Linked DNA regions of Homo sapiens: regions 1, 2, 4, 5 and 6 are each linked to region 3. The links are contacts of gene promoters, found by promoter capture Hi-C in blood cells and fetal thymus (Javierre and others, 2016). All regions are on one chromosome and are shown on one strand. Each heading gives the region's core, a stretch centred on a gene start or on the middle of the fragment in contact. The rest is flanking DNA. Distances are from core to core; before and after follow the strand shown. Region 1 overlaps UBAP2L (ubiquitin associated protein 2 like). Region 2 has its middle 19 kb from the start of S100A2. Region 3 holds the start of DENND4B (DENN domain containing 4B). Region 4 holds the start of SNORA58B (small nucleolar RNA, H/ACA box 58B). Region 5 has its middle 6.5 kb from the start of S100A2. Region 6 overlaps ATP8B2 (ATPase phospholipid transporting 8B2).

Region 1 (2,700 bases), core at 126-2,625, 290 kb before region 3:
ACTGACATGTCCCAAAAATAAAGGGAAAAAAAGGATATTCTTATCTCAGTAACAGAAAACAAATAAATGGATAGTGTGGACTTTGATTCTAGGCCTTGTTCATCTTTACAAGCAGTGGCTTGATTAATTCTGGCTATCTTTTCAAAAGGCAACACTACCCTAACATAAACACTAGAAAATACACTTGGACCTAATAGCAGTGACATAGCATAGTTGAAAGGGCATGGACTTTCAGGGTCAAACAATGCTGAGTTCAAATACTAGCAAATTTATAACCTCTCTTTCGGCCTTAGTTTTGTCATCTGGAAAGTGATGATAAATAATGATTATTTCATACAATATCAAGCAGCATTAAGCGAAATAACATGTGTAATGTGCCCATATGCACGTTACATAAACAGTACACACAGTAATACAACTGCCAGCCCTTTCTCACCCTATCTCCATAACCAAACACTATTCTTCCACGTTTTAATGTAAGTATAATCAGAAAAAACTATTTCCTTAGATTCCCAGAGACAAGAAATGAATGATAAATGGTCACTCACTCGTCCCATCATCTGGTTCAAAGTGGCCAGTGTTGTTCCACGTATTGCCGCTGCTATTGCCATAGTTATCATCAGTATTGGCTGGCTCTGCATAATCAGCTGGGTTAAAGGTTCTGGAAAAAATAAAACTTAAGAGTCTCTGACCTCTAAGCAGCTTTGGCAAATATTAACTCAAAGAATCAAAATCTTGACTGCATCCTTCCTAGTACAAATCTGTCATGGCCCCATTCTATAATCCTGTGTGTCATCTACTTTTTCTCACTTATCACTCTACCCAAAATTTCATGGTATAATCTCAACATATATCTAAGATATTCTGAGAAAAGAACAGGTATATTGATTCAAATAAAGATATATAAAATATAGGTAATGATCCAGGTGGTAAAGGTTTATCCCTAAGAAATGAGCCCTAAGTCCCCATATCTTTCTGACCAGTCTAGAAATCATTCTGATCATTTTGGTTAAGGCTGCCTACAGTAATTTTTAAGGGAAAAAAAATTAAGACACTAGATCAATGAAACTTACCCCATTCCTTGAGCAGAAAACCTTCCTCCTCGCCTACCAGAGCCACCTAAAGAAAGAATGAGAAAAAGAGAAGAGAGATGTATTTTAGAAGTTGATATAAAACTTCCTTGCCAGGCAGGCACAGTGGCTCCCGGTGGTAATCCCAGCACTTTGAAAGGCTGAGGGCGGGCGGATTGGTTGCATCCAGAAGTTCGAGACCAGCCTAGGCAATAGAGCAAAACCCTATCTCTATAAAAAGTACAAAAATTTGCTGAGTGTGGTGGCACACACCTATAGTCCCAGCTCCTTGAGGGGCTGAGGCAGGAGGATCACTTGAATCCAGGAGGCAGAGGCTACAGTGAGCTAAGACCGCACTACTGCACTCCAGCCTGGGTGACAGTGAAACCTTGCCTCAAAAATACAAAAAACTACCCTGCCAGCTGAGGCAGCTCTGGAATAAAAAGTGGTTGATACTATCAGATGTTCTTTCTCTCTGTCCCATGTTACACATCAGTAATAGAGTAGGACAATCATTACTGTTGAGAGATTTTTCTTTTGCTCTCAGACTACCATGTCCTCAAGCAAATACAATACTAGCAATAAAGACTAGAGGAAATGACATCTACCTTCTTTCTCACTCTCCCCTTCTGCAATCTCTAGTATATGCATGACACCTCAGGAATTAACTAACTAGACTTCATGTTAATTTGTTTTTAAACAAAGTAGACCCTGGAGCCAAGTGCTGTCTCTCACACCTATAACCTCAGCACTTGGAGAGGCCAAGCAGGAAGATCTCTTGAAGCCAGGAGTTTGAGACCACCCTGGGCAACATATTGAGACTCCATCTCTACAAAAGCATTTAAAAATTAGCGAGGCGGGCGCATCACTTTAGGTCAGGAGTTCGAGGCCAGCCTGGCCAATGTAGTGAAAGCCCATCTCTACTAAAAATACAAAAATTAGCTGGGCGTAGTGACGCACGCTTGTAATCCCAGCTACTTGGGAGACTGAGGCAGAAGAATCGCTTGAACCCGGGAGGCAGAGGTTGCAGTGAGCCAAGATCGCGCCACTGCACTCCAGCCTGGGTGACAGTGCGAGACTCCATCTCAAAAAAAATTAGCCAGGCATACTGGCGGCCACCTGTAGTCTTAGCTACTAGGGAGGCTGAGGCAGGAGGATCACTTGAGCCCAGGAGTCTGAGGCTGCAGTGAGCTATGACTGTGCCACTGCACTCCGGCCTGGGTGAGAGTGAGACTACCTCCAATAAAAAAAAAAAATAAAGCAGACCATTAATGAATAAAGAGTAACCTGCCCCCAATATCCATCCCCCAACAAACTGATCACCTCTGCCTCGGCCACGGCCCCTTCTGCCTCTTTCTGTTCCTCTTCCAGAAGGCCCTCCACTCTTGGTGCCATCCAATCCATTTTCCTGACCTCGAACTGAAATAAAAATAAAAATTAAAACAACAACAACAACAAAAAAACCAAACCACAGATGGCCAGAGCACAGTCAACAGGATATATACAAATATATAAATGGTATGTAATATGGTATTGGGAATTAAAAAAACAACGAAGAGAAAATGAGCTGGAAGGATGGGAACATGTTTCTCAGGGAATGGTAATGTGCCTTAATGGAGAGCTGCAAGTC
Region 2 (2,843 bases), core at 107-2,606, 360 kb after region 3:
TCCTGGGCAGCTTTTCTGAGCCTTGGGGTACCAGCCTGCCATGAATCTGAGGCTTCTGTTGTCCCCTGCTTTCAATCTGTAAGTAATAAACCTGCTTCATGTAACTTGAGTGTGTCTGTGTGTGTCTGTTTAACTTGACTCAGACAGGTTGAAACCAGTGCACAACGGACCTACTTCTCAATTCCTTTGTAGGCAATCTATTGCTTTTGGAAATGTTCAGAGTTTTAATTGAATTTGATCTTCTTCCACTTCAATATGAGTCTAAATGTGTTTTTTTCCTCAGTTACCCTATTTAGCATTCTATGAGCCCTTTCTATCTGAGATCTTTTTCTCTAATTCTCAGAAGTGTTTCAATGTTATTACTTCATTATTTCCTCCTCTCTGTTTTTTTTTTTTTTAATTCCCTGTCTGGGGAATCCTGTTATCCTGATATGAGCACTCTACTTCTATTCTCCATAGCACTTAGCTCCTTTAAAAATATTCTCTTTGTTCTCTACTTCTGCCTTCTGGGAGAGTTTCTCAGTCTGATCATTTAGCTCATCCATTTATTCTCCAGTTGTAGCCATCTTTTATTTTTCCCAATGATTATGCTCTTTATTTTATTTTATTATTATTTTATTGACACTCTGTCACCCAGGCTGGAGTGCAGTGGCACGATCTTGGTGCATTGCAACCTCTGCCTCCTGGGTTCAAGCAATTCTCCTGCCTCAGCCTCCTGAGTAGCTGGGATTACAGGCTCACACCACCACACCCGGCTAATTTTTGCATTTTTAGTAGAGACGGGGTTTCACCATGTTGGCTAGAATGGTCTTGATCTCTTGACCTTGTGATCTGCCCGCCTCTGCCTCCCAAAGTGCGGGGATTACAGGCGTGAGCCACTGCGCCTGGACAGTTATTTTTTTATGACTTCTTGTTTTTATTTCTATCACTAATCTCTCCTTTATCTTTTTGAGGATTTTATTACCTTAATTTAACTTTTTGGTCTACCAGTTTCAATAACTATGCTTCAAATGGTTCATGTTGGTCTTTTTGGGGGGTATTTTGTTACAATTTCTGTACATCTCAGGTTCTGGTGATTTTGGCTTGTGAGCCTGTGTTTCCTGGGCTGGAGTGGGGGTTGTTCTCAGCTACTGCATCTGGAGGTATTGGGGGAAATCCTCAGTGTGGACAGCCAAAGGCACTGCAGAACTAGTGTCACCATTTTGTTTGCGGTCATTCCGCTGGGCAACATCCTGGATGGGAATTTGCCTTTAAGCTTTATGTTGTGCACATGTACCCTGGAACTTAAAGTATAATAAAAATCTATCTATATATATACAAAATAAAAAAATAAAATATTCACTCATACATGTGGAAAAAAAATAAAAAAATAAAAAAATAAAAAGCAGCTCTGGGAAAAGGCAGTCTCCCTGGATTTAAACCTCCAGCTCTGTGGATTTGCAGTGGGAGGAAGCTTGTTGCCTCAGATCAGCCCCCGACTTACTTGCATCAGCTTTTTATCCTGATAGGCCTTGTGTTTTGCCCTGCTTGTTTCTTCTCTGGAGGCAATTGTATCATATCCTTGTTTTTTTCCAATCCTTAGACCTTGAAAAAATGTTTTCCTTAGTGTAATGGTCAGAACCTTCAAATTAATGTTGAATAAAGTGATAATAGCAAGAATCCTTTCCTTGTGTTTGACTTTAACAGGAACAATTTTAAAGCATTTACTGTTCATTCATTTACTGTTAAGAATAATTTAATGTTAAGAATAAGATTGCAGGCTGGGTGTGGTGGCTCATGCCTGTAATTCCAGCACTTTGGGAGGCCGAGGTAGGTGGATCCTTTGAGCTCAGGAGTTTGAGACCAGTGAGGGCAACGTGGTGAAACCCCACTAAAAAAAAAAAAATAAGATTGCAGTAGGTTTTTGCTTGTTGGTCAAGATGTTCCTTTCTATTCCTAGATTATTAAGCGTTATTATTATAAATGGGTATTGAATTTATTCTGGCATCATCATATGGTTTTAATTTTTAATCTCTTAATGTGGAGACTTACATTAATGTATTTTCTAATGTTAAAGTCATCCCTGCAATCATGACATAAACCCAACTTAGTCATAATTTTTCTTAAGTATAATACTTGATTCCATTTGCTAACAGTTTATTTAGGATTTTGCATCTATAATCATAAGTGAGATTGGGTCTCAATTTTCCTTTCTCATACGATACATTTCTGGTGTTGGTATGTAGGATGATCTGCTTGGTACATGGGTTTGGCTGTATGTAACGGATACCAAAAATAGTGGTGACGTGAATGAGAGGGAAGTTTTTTTTTTCTGTCCTGTATTATCTGGAGGTTGGTGGTCCAGGGCTGGTTTGGTGGTTCTGCTTAACCACCCCTAGTTCGTATGGTCCAAATAGCTCATGTACTTTCTAAGTGGCAGGGTGAAGAAACGGCATGTCTCTGACTTTTGAGCATGAATCAAAACTTGCATACCCCATTTCTACTTCTCTTGGCCAGAACTTAGTCATATGGCTACACTCAGCTGCAAGGAAGGCTGGGAAGTGTGGCCTTTATTTGAACTTAAAAGCAAAGATTCTTTTGCTGTGAAAGACAAGGGGAGAATAGGTAATAGGACAATTAGCAGTCTCTACCATAAAGGTTATTTTATATATGCCACATATGGGCAGTATTTCCTTTTTCTATTTTCTGGAAATTTAAGTTTGTATGATTTTTTTTTCTTTTTTTTTTTGGCTGACTTTTGTTTTTTTTTTTTTTAAATTTATTTATTTATTTATTTTTTAATTGATCATTCTTGGGTGTTTCTCGCAGAGGGGGATTTGGCAGGGCCATAGGACAATAGTGGA
Region 3 (2,987 bases), core at 341-2,840:
TAAGGAGATTGCAGCAGCCCTGGCCGGAGTGCCTGGCTTTGAGGTGTCAGCAGCTGGATTGGAGCTAGGGCTTGGGCTAGAAGATGAGCTGCGCATGGAGCCACTGGGCCTGGAAGGGCTAAACATGCTGAGTGACCCCTGTGCCCTGCTGCCTGATCCTGCTGTGGAGGAGTCATTCCGCAGTGACCGGCTCCAATGAGGGCACCTCATCACCATCCCTCTTCTTGGCCCCATCCCCCACCACCATTCCTTTCCTCCCTTCCCCCTGGCAGGTAGAGACTCTACTCTCTGTCCCCAGATCCTCTTTCTAGCATGAATGAAGGATGCCAAGAATGAGAAAAAGCAAGGGGTTTGTCCAGGTGGCCCCTGAATTCTGCGCAAGGGATGGGCCTGGGGGAACTCAAGGGAGGGCCTAAAGCACTTGTAACTTTGAACCGTCTGTCTGGAGGTCAGAGCCTGTTGGAAAGCAGGGGTAGAGGGGAGCCCTGGAAGCAGGGCTTTTCCGGATGCCTAGGGGTGGGCAGTGCCAGCCCCTCCTCACCACTCTTCCCCTTGCAGTGGAGGAGAGAGCCAGAGTGGATACTATTTTTTATTAAATATATTATTATATGTTAATAAAAAAATCATATCAAACCCTTGGTGTGGTTAGTTATTTGGGGCATGGCTGGGGATCTAGGGAGTTATAGGGCCATGGGTCTTTTTATCTATTAGGCTTTTTGCATCTTCTTAGCACCACTGTGCTTTGTGGAAGGGCCCCACAGCCTCGGAATTTGTACCCAGCTGGATGTAGGCTTCCACGGCAGCAGGAAATCACTTCATGTGCCCTCCTGTCTGTCCAGGGCCCTGCTGCAGCATCAGATGGGGGCTTTGACTGATCAGACAAGTTATTCCTCTTCCTCAACCCTAGGTCTGGCAGTGAGTCGGGTAAGGAGGTGATTGCTGGCTGAGCCCACAGGTCTGAAGTGCTCCTAGGTCTCAGGGAAGCAAGCCTTCATCCTCACTCCCTCACTATGCATGCATTCACTTCACCCTCTCCACTCTTCACCACTCATTCATTTTAGTTTTAATTAAACAGATCCTTCAGTGCCATGCATGTTCTGAAGGTTTTCTCTTTCTGGATTGGGTTGCCAGCCCTTGGACCAGCCGTGTGGGCCTCTGCACCCCTCACTCCCCCAACCCGCATAGTGAGAAAAGTAGAGCCCCGCAGTTACCTTACCCCCACCTCCACTGCTCTATTCCACACCCTGCAGTCCTGGCCTCTCTTCCTCTTTCCAAAGCTCTTGTCATTTTCAAAAAAGAGAACTGAGAGCTTCTGGTTCTGGTCCAAAGGGAATGCCCTGTGCCCTAAACCTGGAAGTAGGGGGAGCCACCTGGGTCCCCGTAGACTAGACCTTCGGGACTTCACCTGCGCCCACATCATGCTTGCCACATCTGACTGCAGGACCCAGGCGGGAAGGGAGCGCGCCGCGGCCCTCTGGGTCGCCTGGGGTCAGTGTCCTGAGGCACGGGCTGGATGGTGGGAAGCTACCTGGGTGCAGGGGGCCCTCCCAGCCGCCAGGGGTCGGGCTGCAGGCGGCTGGGCTTTGGGCAGACGCTTGCCAGGGTCACGGCCGCCGGCCGAGGAGGAGGGGTGGGGGTAGCGGCGGCGCCCGCGGCCCGGAGCGGGGGTTGGGGGAGTAGAGAAAGCGGGGCGCGCGGAGGAACGCTGGGTCCCCGGCGCCGCGGGAGCTGGGAGGACCGAGCCGGCCGAGCGAGCAGCGCGGCAGCACAGTCCCCGCGTGGCGCAGCGCGGCGGGGACGCGGGGACCGCCCGGATCTCCTTCCACTGCGCCCCGCGCTCTGCGGTCCTCGGCCGCCTCTTCTTCCTTCACTCACTGCCCGGGCGGGAGCGGCGCCCAAGTCGGGTGCGCCATGTCTGGGGCCGGGTAGCCCCGCCGCCCGCCGGCCCGCCAGCTCGCCCTCCGAGCCACCCGCCAGCGGGCCGGCCGGCCGGGAAGCGCGGGACAGGCAGGTAGGGGCTGGACCGGGCTGGGCGGCAGGCGGGGACGGGCAGGAGGGAGCGCGGGCGGCAGGCGGGGTGGGGGATGGCCCCCAGCTGCTGTCCCTCACTGCACATCTGGTTCCGGTTCCTCTCTCCTGGGGAAGTGAAAGTGGAGGGGAGGGCACCTCCCGCAATTAGCTCGCCGTGCCCGGCCTCCTGCACCCCCTTCTGCTCCCGTGGGTGCCGGAGTCGGAGCCGCCCTCCCTCCCGCTTGGGTCACGCGGCGGCCGGCGCTGCTGCCGTCACGTCCTCGGCCGCCGGCGCGCCTGCTTCTCTGCCCTCCTGCTCCTTCCTCAGCCTCCTCCCCCTCGGCGCGCCCTCTGCCCCAACCCGAACTTCCCGTCACCCGGCACGCGGGCGTGGGGACCCGGAGTGGGCCCTGTGCCCGTTGTCTTCCCTAGGGAGAAAGGGCTGCTTTCTGCAGGACTCTTCCCTGGCTTGGTGAGGGGAGGCCCCGGTGCGCAGGTCCTGCGGATGGGTGCCACCCACTTGCCCCTCAGAAGGTCCCACCTAATGGCCTCTGCCTGCTGCCTTGGGCATAGGGCTCCCATTCGCCCTCAGTGGATGAGGGACAGGTCTGTGCCCCAGAATTAAATCAAGAGGCTGACGCTGACTCCTGGCTTTACCTCCCAGAAGTGGAGTCTAAATTTAGCTGGGGTTGGTGTGTGTACGTGTGTGCGTGTGTGTGTGCGTGTGTGTGTGTGTGTGTGTGTCCAGAGGCCAGGTGATGAAGAAAGCCAGCCTGGCTCTATGAGATTCCTTATTCCCTGTTCTCTGGGGGAACAGCAGGAGGTTAGCAGGACTGCACATCCTGGAACCATTCTGAGCCTCCTCTGCCTTGCTCAGGATCCTATAGTCTGAGATTCCAACTTGGCGTAATGCTGTGCTGGCACCTTCAATGGTAACCCCACCACCGCCACCGCCACCACACACACCCATAGGCTGA
Region 4 (2,700 bases), core at 25-2,524, 310 kb before region 3:
AAGGAGTGGCAAGGCAGTGAGATTGCCACTGTGAGTAGTAGCATAAAGGGGCAGAGATGAGCAGAGAAGACCACCTCAACCACTGTATTTCCTGGAAAAAGCTAGCAAATGGCTTGAAACTAAGTCAAGATATCACTTTTTTTGGAGATGGGGTCTTGCTATGTTGCCCAGGCTGGTCTTGAACTCCTGGGCTCAAGCAATTCTCCCACCTTGGCCTCCCAAGTAGCTGAGACTACAAGTGTGTGCTACCATGCCTGGCTAAGATATCATCTAGAAATCACAGGGAGACAACACAAAGTGGGATGAATAGGAAAAGCCATGACATGCCCAACTTTAGCAGGATTTTGAATCTACCAATCCTGATTTATCACATCCCTTCTTGCTACCAATCAGGTGTCTGCCATCAATCCCAACACTATCTCCCTTTTTATTTATTTAGTCCCATCCCAATCCTACCAGAATAAGGGTTGCTGGCCAGGCTACCATCCCTCCCAGTCAGCGGAGTAGTGGGTGTGGGAAATGGGATGCTGTAGTAATCCTAGAAAAGAGGGGAAAAAAGAGCAGAGATTCAATGTCACTCATTCCCCAGCATGAGTACTATTTCCACGGAGGAAAAAACAGAAGAATGTGAGAGTTGTGCAATTTATCCAGTCACTAATTAAGCTGGCTAGAGTTAGCACAAACTCCACATTACTCTTGCATACACTGTCCCCCCTGCCTGGCCATGAGCACAGTCAGACAAGGTCTACGGGTATGCCCACTTGAGAATACATCAAAGTCCACGAGGACCAATATTTTCAACCCTCTAGGTGTCATCCCTATCAGTTTATACCAAGCTTATTCTACTGAGAAAACAGATCATTCGATAATTTAAAGTGTCTGGGACAAACAGAAAGCACCCTGAGTGCTCCAGAGTACTTTACTGGGCTATAGAATAGGTTAAAATGTATTTACTAAGATGCCACAACTCTGATTTAAAAAAAGAAAAAAAAAAGGCTGGGTGCGGCGGCTCATGCCTATAAGCTCAGCACTTAGGGAGGCAGAGGCGGGTGGATCATAAGGTCAGGAGTTCAAGACCAGCTTGGCCAAGATGGTGAAACCCCGCCTCTACTAAAAATACAAAAAAAATTAGCTGGGGGTGGTGGTGGGCACCTTTAATCCCAGCTACTCGGAAGGCTGAGGCAGACAATTGCTTTAACCCAGGCGGCGGAGGTTGCAATGAGCCAAGATCACACCACTGCACTCCAGCTTGAGCGACAGAGAAAGACTCTGTCTCAAAAAAAAAAGTTATCTTCTGTTGGAAACCCTCCCCCAAATCCCTATATTCTAATATGCCTTAAATCAGAGTGTATGGAGGGCTGGGATGGGAAAGAGCTATGTCTGTGACGGAGATAATTCTCCCAACACTAATTTTAAGACTACTTTCTTTTCCAAAGCTCTATCCCACATACTCACCAATGGAAATCTTGTCTGAAGCATCTGCAAGTCATCATAACCATATACTTGTGGCTGAAAGATACAGACATATAGCAATAACAGGAACTGGTCATGATGTTAGCAAAACAAGGAGCCAAGAGACAAGCTAATTCAACAGAACATTCATCCTCATTCTGGGTTAGAACAGGACACGGATTATTTCCTTCAATTTTATTTAAGGAAAAAGCAGTAAAGTACACAGAGATTAAATGATTCATGAAAGGTCTTGAAGCTTTCCTTGAGCTAAATACTACTGATTCTAGTAGGCTGGCTTCTTGATACCAATAGAGTAGACACAAAACATACACGAACAACCAGTTTTACTCTCTATTCTACAAGTCTCTGTCTCTTATACTCTTCAAAATCTGGCTTAAAAATAATCTCCTCTGGAAAGAATACTTCACTTTTCTCCAATGTCAGGGTTTTAAGGTAGTGACCACAAATTAAAAATGTGTAACTGTGTTATTTGGATGTGTCATCGGTATGAAATTTATCTAGACTTTGTCTATGAGGGCAGGAACAGGTATCTTCTAAAACGTTTCCATATATCCTTCATCTTAATAGGTACCAAATACTTGAAGGTCACAGAAGATACACTAGGGCAAAAAGCTACTAATGTCAGCCACTTATTCTCAAAGTCCCAGATTGAGTCAGGAAACTTTCCTCTAACCAGGCCAGACCAGCAAACACACTCAGAGTTAGGGATTTAATCAAATCAGAGAAAATAATTCTTGGGGCCAGGAGTAGTGGCTCAGGCCTATATATAACCCCAGTTATTTGAGAGGCTGAGGCAGGAGGACTGTCTGAACCTGGGATTTTGAGACCAGCCTAGGCAACATAGGAAGACCCTGTCTCTAAAAAAATTTTTAAAACTTAGCCAGGCATGGGGATGCACACCTGTAGTCCTAGCTACTTGGGGAGTCTGAGGTGAGAGGATTGCTTGAGCCCAGGAGTTCAAGGCTGCAGTGAGCTAGCTATGATCGTTCCACTGTACTCCAACCTGGGTAAAAGAGCAAGATCTGCCTCAAAAAATAAAATAATAGTCATAATTATCTAAGAAACCAAAAAGGATTCCAGATGAACATTCTGGCCTTTGGCTTCTGAGGCCCAGAAGCTGTGTTTCAAACAGGGCAGATATTCTCATCACACATATACATACACATTGTACGCACACACACACATGCATACATGTGTGCACCATAAACCAAAGCAGATACACAATAG
Region 5 (2,700 bases), core at 155-2,654, 390 kb after region 3:
CTGGACTCCAGCCTGGGCAACAGAGCAAGACTGTGTCTCAAAAAAAAAAAAAAAAAAAAAAAAAAAAGAATACAGGCCATAGGCAGTGCTGTGGTTTGAATGTGTTCCCCAAAGTTCATGTGTTGGAAACTTTATCTCCAAAGCAATAGTAATTAACAGGTGATTAGGCCATGAGGGCTCTGCTGTAATGAATGGATTCGTGCTGTTATCACAGGAGCGGGTTCCTTATAGAAGGATGAATTTGTCCCCCCACCTTTTATTTCTCTCCCTCTCTTTGCTCTTCCACCAGGAGATGATGCAGCAAGAAGGCCTTCTCCAGGTGTTACCCCCTCCAGCTTAGACTTCCTGGCCTCCAGAATGGTGAGCCAATAAATATCTGTTTTGTTTTGAATACCAGTCTGTGGTATTCTGTTGTAGCAATACAAAATGGACCAAGACAGGCAGTACACCTGTTTTCAGAAAACAAGTGTATTGTATTCTATACAACACATTCTATATTATATTGTACATTCTTTTTTTTTTGAGACAGGGTCTCGCTCTGTTGCCCAGGCTGGAGTGAAGTGGCATCATAATCTCTGCTCACTGCAACTTCCGCCTCCCGGGTTCAAGTGATTCTCCTATCTCAGCCTCCTGAGTAGCTGGGATTACAGGCATGTGCCACTACGCCCAGCTAATTTTGTATTTTTAGTAGAGACGGGTTTCTCCATGCTGGTCAGGCTGGTCTTGAACTCCTAACCTCAGGTGATCTGCCCGCCTCGGGTTCTAAAGTGCTGGGATTACAGATGTGAGCCATCATGCCCGGCCGAGAGCAAAAATTTATTATCTCTTATGGTTCTGCAGGTAGACTGGGTTTAGTTGATGGTTCTCACGTGGGGTCTTCCATGTAGGTGGAAATCGGAGCTAGAGTAATCTGAATGTTTGAACAAACTCAACTTCTACGGTAGCTTGCTTAACATGCGTGGCAACTGATATCGAATGTGAGCTGGGACCTCAGCTAGAACTGCCAGCCGGAGTGCTTACCATGGCCTCTCGATGTGGCTTGAGCTTCTTAGAGCATGGCAGTAGGGTCCTGAGAGGACAAATCCCAAAGTGAGCATTGCATGAGGCCTACGTGGAAGCTGGTAGGCTTAAGATTTATTAATTTTAATTTTAATTAAATTAATTAATTTATTTTTGAGACAGGGTTTCATTCTGTCACCCAGGCCCGGGTGCAGTGGTGCAATAATGGCTCACTGCAGCCTCCACCTCCCAGGGTCAAGCAATTCTCCTGCCTCAGCCTCCCAAGTGGCTGGGACTACAGGTACACGCCACCATACCTGGTTAATTTTTGCATTTTTTGTAGAGACAGTGTTTCACCATGTTGCCCAGGCTGGTCTCAAATTCCTGGACTCAAGGGTCCCACCTGCCTTGGTCTCCCAAAGTGCTGGGAATACAGATATGAGACACTGTGCCTGGTATTTCTTAAGATTTATTTCAGAAATCCCAGGACATCATTTCTGCTATATTCTAATGATAAAAAAAAATCATTAAGTCTGGCTCAGATTAAGGGGAGGAGGAGAATTAGACATCTCTCTCTTTTTTTTTTTTTGAGATGGAGTCTTGCTCTGTCGCCCAGGCTGGAGTGCAGAGGTGTGATCTTGGCTTACTGCAACCTCCACTTCCTGGGTTCAAGTGATTCTCTTGCCTGAGTAGCTGGGATTACAGGCATGCGCCACCACGCCCGGGTAATTTTTGTATTTTCAATAGAGACAGGGTTTCACCATGTTGGTCAGGCTGGTCTTCAACCCCTGACCTCGTGATCTGCCTGCCTCGGCCTCCCAAAGTGCTGGGATGACAGGCGTGAGCCACCGCGCCTGGCTAGACATCTTTTAATGTAAAGAGCAGCGTGCATAAAATTGACAGTGACCATCTTTGGAGACTAAATACCATAGTCTGTCTTCTAGCAACCGCAATTCACATCCCTCCCATATGCAAAATACATTAATCTCCTTCCCAAGACCCACAAAGTCTCATCTCTTTAAGGCATCAATTTGATGTCTCTGATCTTATTATCTGAGACAGGCCCAGAGATATGAACAAGGCTTCTCATGTGCAGTTCCTCCAGGACGGCTCCTCAAAAGTGGTTCCTCTTGACCTGAAGTCCTGTGAAGAACATAGTCGATGTTCACAGGTGAGATAAAGATACATAACTGCCATCCAGGCTTGTTGGCTCACGCCTGTAATCTCAGCACTTTGGGAGGCTGAGGTGGGTAGATCACTTGAGCTCAGGAATTTGAGACCAGCCTGGCCAAAGTGGCAAAACCCCGTCTCTGCTAAAAATACAAAGATTAGCCTGGTATGGTGGCATGCGCCTGTAATCCCAGCTACTCGGGAGGCTGAGGCAGGAACATCGCTTGAACCTGGGAGGTGGAGATTGCACTGAGCTGAGATCATACCACTGCACTCCAGCCTGGGTGACAGAGTAAGACTCTGTTTTTTTTTTTTTTCTTTTTTTTTTTAAAAAGATAACTGCCACAAACACGCCTATTCTTAAGGGTGTGGTGGTGTACTGGAGGCACAAATTGGTGCATTGGTCCATAGCAATTCCGAAATTGAGTCAGACATATGTCACCAGATTCTTGACTAGGGCCCAGTTCTGCTCTCTATAAGTGGTTCTTCTTGGCTCTTGGCCTCTAGGTTCTTGACTCCATTTTCTGAGTT
Region 6 (2,700 bases), core at 7-2,506, 390 kb before region 3:
GCATTCTTTAGTTTTTTTTTAGAATGCATTTTTTTCTTTTTGTGGGGGAGGGGTTCCAGTGAAAACTGGAAAACCTGCTAGACAAATTCTAAAAGAGCTGTAACACTTAGAATGCATTTTTAGAATACAGAATACATTCTTTTGACTTTCTTCAAAAACTTTTTTGTTTGTTTGTTTGTTTCGTTGTTTTTTGAGACACAGTTTCGCTCGTTGCCCAGGCTAGAGTGCAGTGGCGTGATCTTGGCTCACTGCTACCTCCACCTTCCGGTTTCAAGCGATTCTCCTACCTTAGCCTCCCAAGTAGCTGGGATTACAGGCAACCACCACCACACCTGGCTAATTTTTGTATTTTTAGTAGAGACGGGGTTTCAACATGTTGGCCAGGCTGGTCTCGAATTCCTGACCTCGTTATCCGCCCACCTTGGCTTCCCAAAGTGCTGGGATTACAGGTGTGAGCCACCGTGCCCAGTCTTTTCAATAACTTTTAATGGTTAGTAAATACAAAGTCCACAGGCAAATATTCAAAAGCCTCCACAATCAGGAGCAAGCTATGTTTCCAGCTCTTGCTCTTGGCCCAAGACCCTGGCCAACTATTTCCATAGGCCATTCCCAGGCTCCCATCTCCACACCTTTGCTTCCAGCCCTCTCAGCCTCCTCTCCATTGTGGCTCCACCTTCATCCAGCCCAGTCACCACTCAAAGCCCAGAGCAAATGCCATCTCTCCCTCTCTGCCTACCTGCTTAGGGAGCGACACTCTCCCAGTCCCCGGGCACCCTGTGCCTCCCACATGGTATCTCAGTCTGACACTGTCCAGATCTCCCCTCCTCGACCTATCCATCTGCTGCTGCTAAAGGCAGAGGCCACCTTATACATCTCTGTATCCCCAAGCTTCACATAGAAGACTCTAGGTCGAATTCTACAGCACTGGTTCCTATTTTGTTTTATAATGTGTTTAGATTTTCCTTCCTTTACTAGACGTAAGCTCCTAGAAGGAAGGAGATCCATTCCTAATTCATCTTTTATTTGTGATGGCACCTAGCACACTTCTTTGTACACAGTAGGCATGTAATAAATAGGTGCTGAATAAATCAATATTTTTTTTTCTCTAATACAGTCCCAAGTACCAGGAAACTGTGGTAAAAAGTTTGCTCTGCCCACAAAGATAAACAGATAACATCAAATGTTTACAGTACAGGAAGAAGAGGACTTCTCGTTACTTCTCAAGGACTTCATCTTCATAGAAAAGAAAAGTTCTATGGGACCGCCTGACTCCCTGGAGAGACCCCAGGTCAGAGAAGGCACATACCTGACATAGAGTGAAATGGGCACAACGGTGTTGAGGATGATGATGTAGGACCAGAAGGAGAGGAAGCCAGAGAAGAAGGCACTGTCCACTGCCTCATCCCACGGCAGGTAGACCTGGAAACGCATCCCCACCTCGTGCTCCCAGATGGCATTGCCAATGGCCAGGATCACCCCCATGCAAACCAGGAATCCAAAAATCTGGGGAGGAATGAGAAGCACAGGCGAGGCTGACATGTAGGAAGCCCTCAAAACCAAGTGCATCTGTGATGTATTCATCCCTTGAGCCCTCAAAAGCTCAGATGCTCTAGTGCAAGCTTGTCCAACCCATGGTCTCTGGGCCACATGTGGCCCAACACAGATTCATAAACTTTCTTAAAACACTATGAGATTTTGGTAACAGCTGAATGTTAAATGAAAAATAATTATAAAAAAAAAAAAAACTATTATGGGCTGGGCGCAGTGGCTCAAGCCTGTAATCCCAGCATTTTGGGAGGTTGAGGCGGATGGATCACCTGAGGTCAGGAGTTTGAGACCAGCCTGGCCAACACGGTGAAACCCCGTCTCTACTAAAAACATTAAAAAAATTAGCCAGTCCTGGTGGCACTTGCCTGTAGTCTCAGCTACTCAGGAGTCCAAGGCATGAGAATTGCTTGAACCCGGGAGGCAGACATTGCAGTGAGCCAAGATCATGCCACTGCATCCCAGCCTGGGCAACAGAGCAAGAACCTGTCTCAAAAAAAAAAAAAAAAAAGGCCAGGTGCAGTGACTCACACCTATAATCCCAGCACTTTGGGAGGCCAAGGCGGGCAGATCATGAGGTCAGGAGTTCGAGACCAGTCTGGCCAACATGGTGAAACCCCATCTCTCATCTCTACTAAAAATACAAAAAAATTAGCCGGGTGTGGTGGCGGGCACCTGTAATCCCAGCTACTAGGGAGGCTGAGGCAGGAGAATCACGTGAACCCGAGAGGCAGAGGTTGCAGTGAGCCGAGATAATGCCATTGCACTACACTCCAGCCTAGTGACAGAGTGAGACTCCGTCTCAAAAAAAAAAAAAAAAAATTTATGAGATTTTTTTTTGCAATTTTTTTTTTCTAAGCTTATCAGCTATTGTTAATGTTAGTGTATTTTATGTGTGGCCCAAGACAATTCTTCTTCCAATGTGGCCCAGGGATGCCAAAATATTGGACACCACTGCTCTAGTGGAAAAAGCTCAGAACTGGTGACAGGTTCTAGTCTGTCACCAATTATCATGTGGCCTTCTGTCTGACCATTATTTCATCTATATGATGAAGAAACTGAAATAGTTGATTAGCTCTCAATCTGGCACCTTGAAACCTTCCAGAGTCCTCAAAGTTGGTAAGAGTGGGGATGAGCTACTTTTAACATACCAGA

What was found. Contacts are between HindIII fragments. The CHiCAGO score rates a contact against its expected background, and 5 or more counts as called.
Region 1: a fragment that was not itself captured here is called in contact with the fragment with the promoter of DENND4B in region 3 in 3 of 17 cell types (fetal thymus, naive CD4 T cells and naive CD8 T cells); the score reaches 5.4 in fetal thymus.
Region 2: a fragment that was not itself captured here is called in contact with the fragment with the promoter of DENND4B in region 3 in 2 of 17 cell types (total B cells and M0 macrophages); the score reaches 5.7 in total B cells.
Region 4: a contact is called between a fragment that was not itself captured here and the fragment with the promoter of DENND4B in region 3, in 6 of 17 cell types (naive CD8 T cells, naive CD4 T cells, naive B cells and 3 more). The highest score is 6.7, in naive CD8 T cells.
Region 5: a contact is called between a fragment that was not itself captured here and the fragment with the promoter of DENND4B in region 3, in 1 of 17 cell types (M2 macrophages). The highest score is 5.5, in M2 macrophages.
Region 6: a fragment that was not itself captured here is called in contact with the fragment with the promoter of DENND4B in region 3 in 1 of 17 cell types (total CD8 T cells); the score reaches 5.5 in total CD8 T cells.

Annotation. Positions count from the first base shown.
Region 1 is chr1:154,234,985-154,237,684 of GRCh38, reverse strand. It overlaps UBAP2L (ubiquitin associated protein 2 like), which reads right to left. Exons shown (of 27, transcript NM_014847.4): 6 at 2,394-2,489; 7 at 1,074-1,119; 8 at 549-661. Among named protein-coding and RNA genes, the nearest start is that of UBAP2L, 15 kb to the right of the region's middle. The HindIII fragment of the contact is 7,636 bases long and covers 1-2,700 here.
Region 2 is chr1:153,583,828-153,586,670 of GRCh38, reverse strand. No RefSeq gene overlaps it. Among named protein-coding and RNA genes, the nearest start is that of S100A2, 19 kb to the right of the region's middle. RefSeq lists an enhancer at 2,664-2,843. The HindIII fragment of the contact is 198 bases long and covers 1,258-1,455 here.
Region 3 is chr1:153,945,321-153,948,307 of GRCh38, reverse strand. DENND4B (DENN domain containing 4B) reads left to right here and starts at 1,590. Exons shown (of 28, transcript NM_014856.3): 1 at 1,590-2,007. It overlaps CRTC2 (CREB regulated transcription coactivator 2), which reads left to right. Exons shown (of 14, transcript NM_181715.3): 14 at 1-633. The coding sequence ends at 199. RefSeq lists enhancers at 1,019-1,088, 1,900-2,400, 2,869-2,918 and a silencer at 1,479-2,378. The HindIII fragment of the contact is 4,483 bases long and covers 1-2,987 here.
Region 4 is chr1:154,257,786-154,260,485 of GRCh38, reverse strand. UBAP2L (ubiquitin associated protein 2 like) reads right to left here. Exons shown (of 27, transcript NM_014847.4): 21 at 1,456-1,509; 22 at 457-538. It overlaps SNORA58B (small nucleolar RNA, H/ACA box 58B), which reads right to left and starts at 759; the gene lies at 624-759. The HindIII fragment of the contact is 872 bases long and covers 839-1,710 here.
Region 5 is chr1:153,557,967-153,560,666 of GRCh38, reverse strand. No RefSeq gene overlaps it. Among named protein-coding and RNA genes, the nearest start is that of S100A2, 6.5 kb to the left of the region's middle. The HindIII fragment of the contact is 3,344 bases long and covers 1-2,700 here.
Region 6 is chr1:154,336,151-154,338,850 of GRCh38, reverse strand. It overlaps ATP8B2 (ATPase phospholipid transporting 8B2), which reads right to left. Exons shown (of 28, transcript NM_001370597.1): 12 at 1,307-1,503. It also overlaps the pseudogene RNU7-57P. Among named protein-coding and RNA genes, the nearest start is that of ATP8B2, 12 kb to the right of the region's middle. The HindIII fragment of the contact is 731 bases long and covers 891-1,621 here.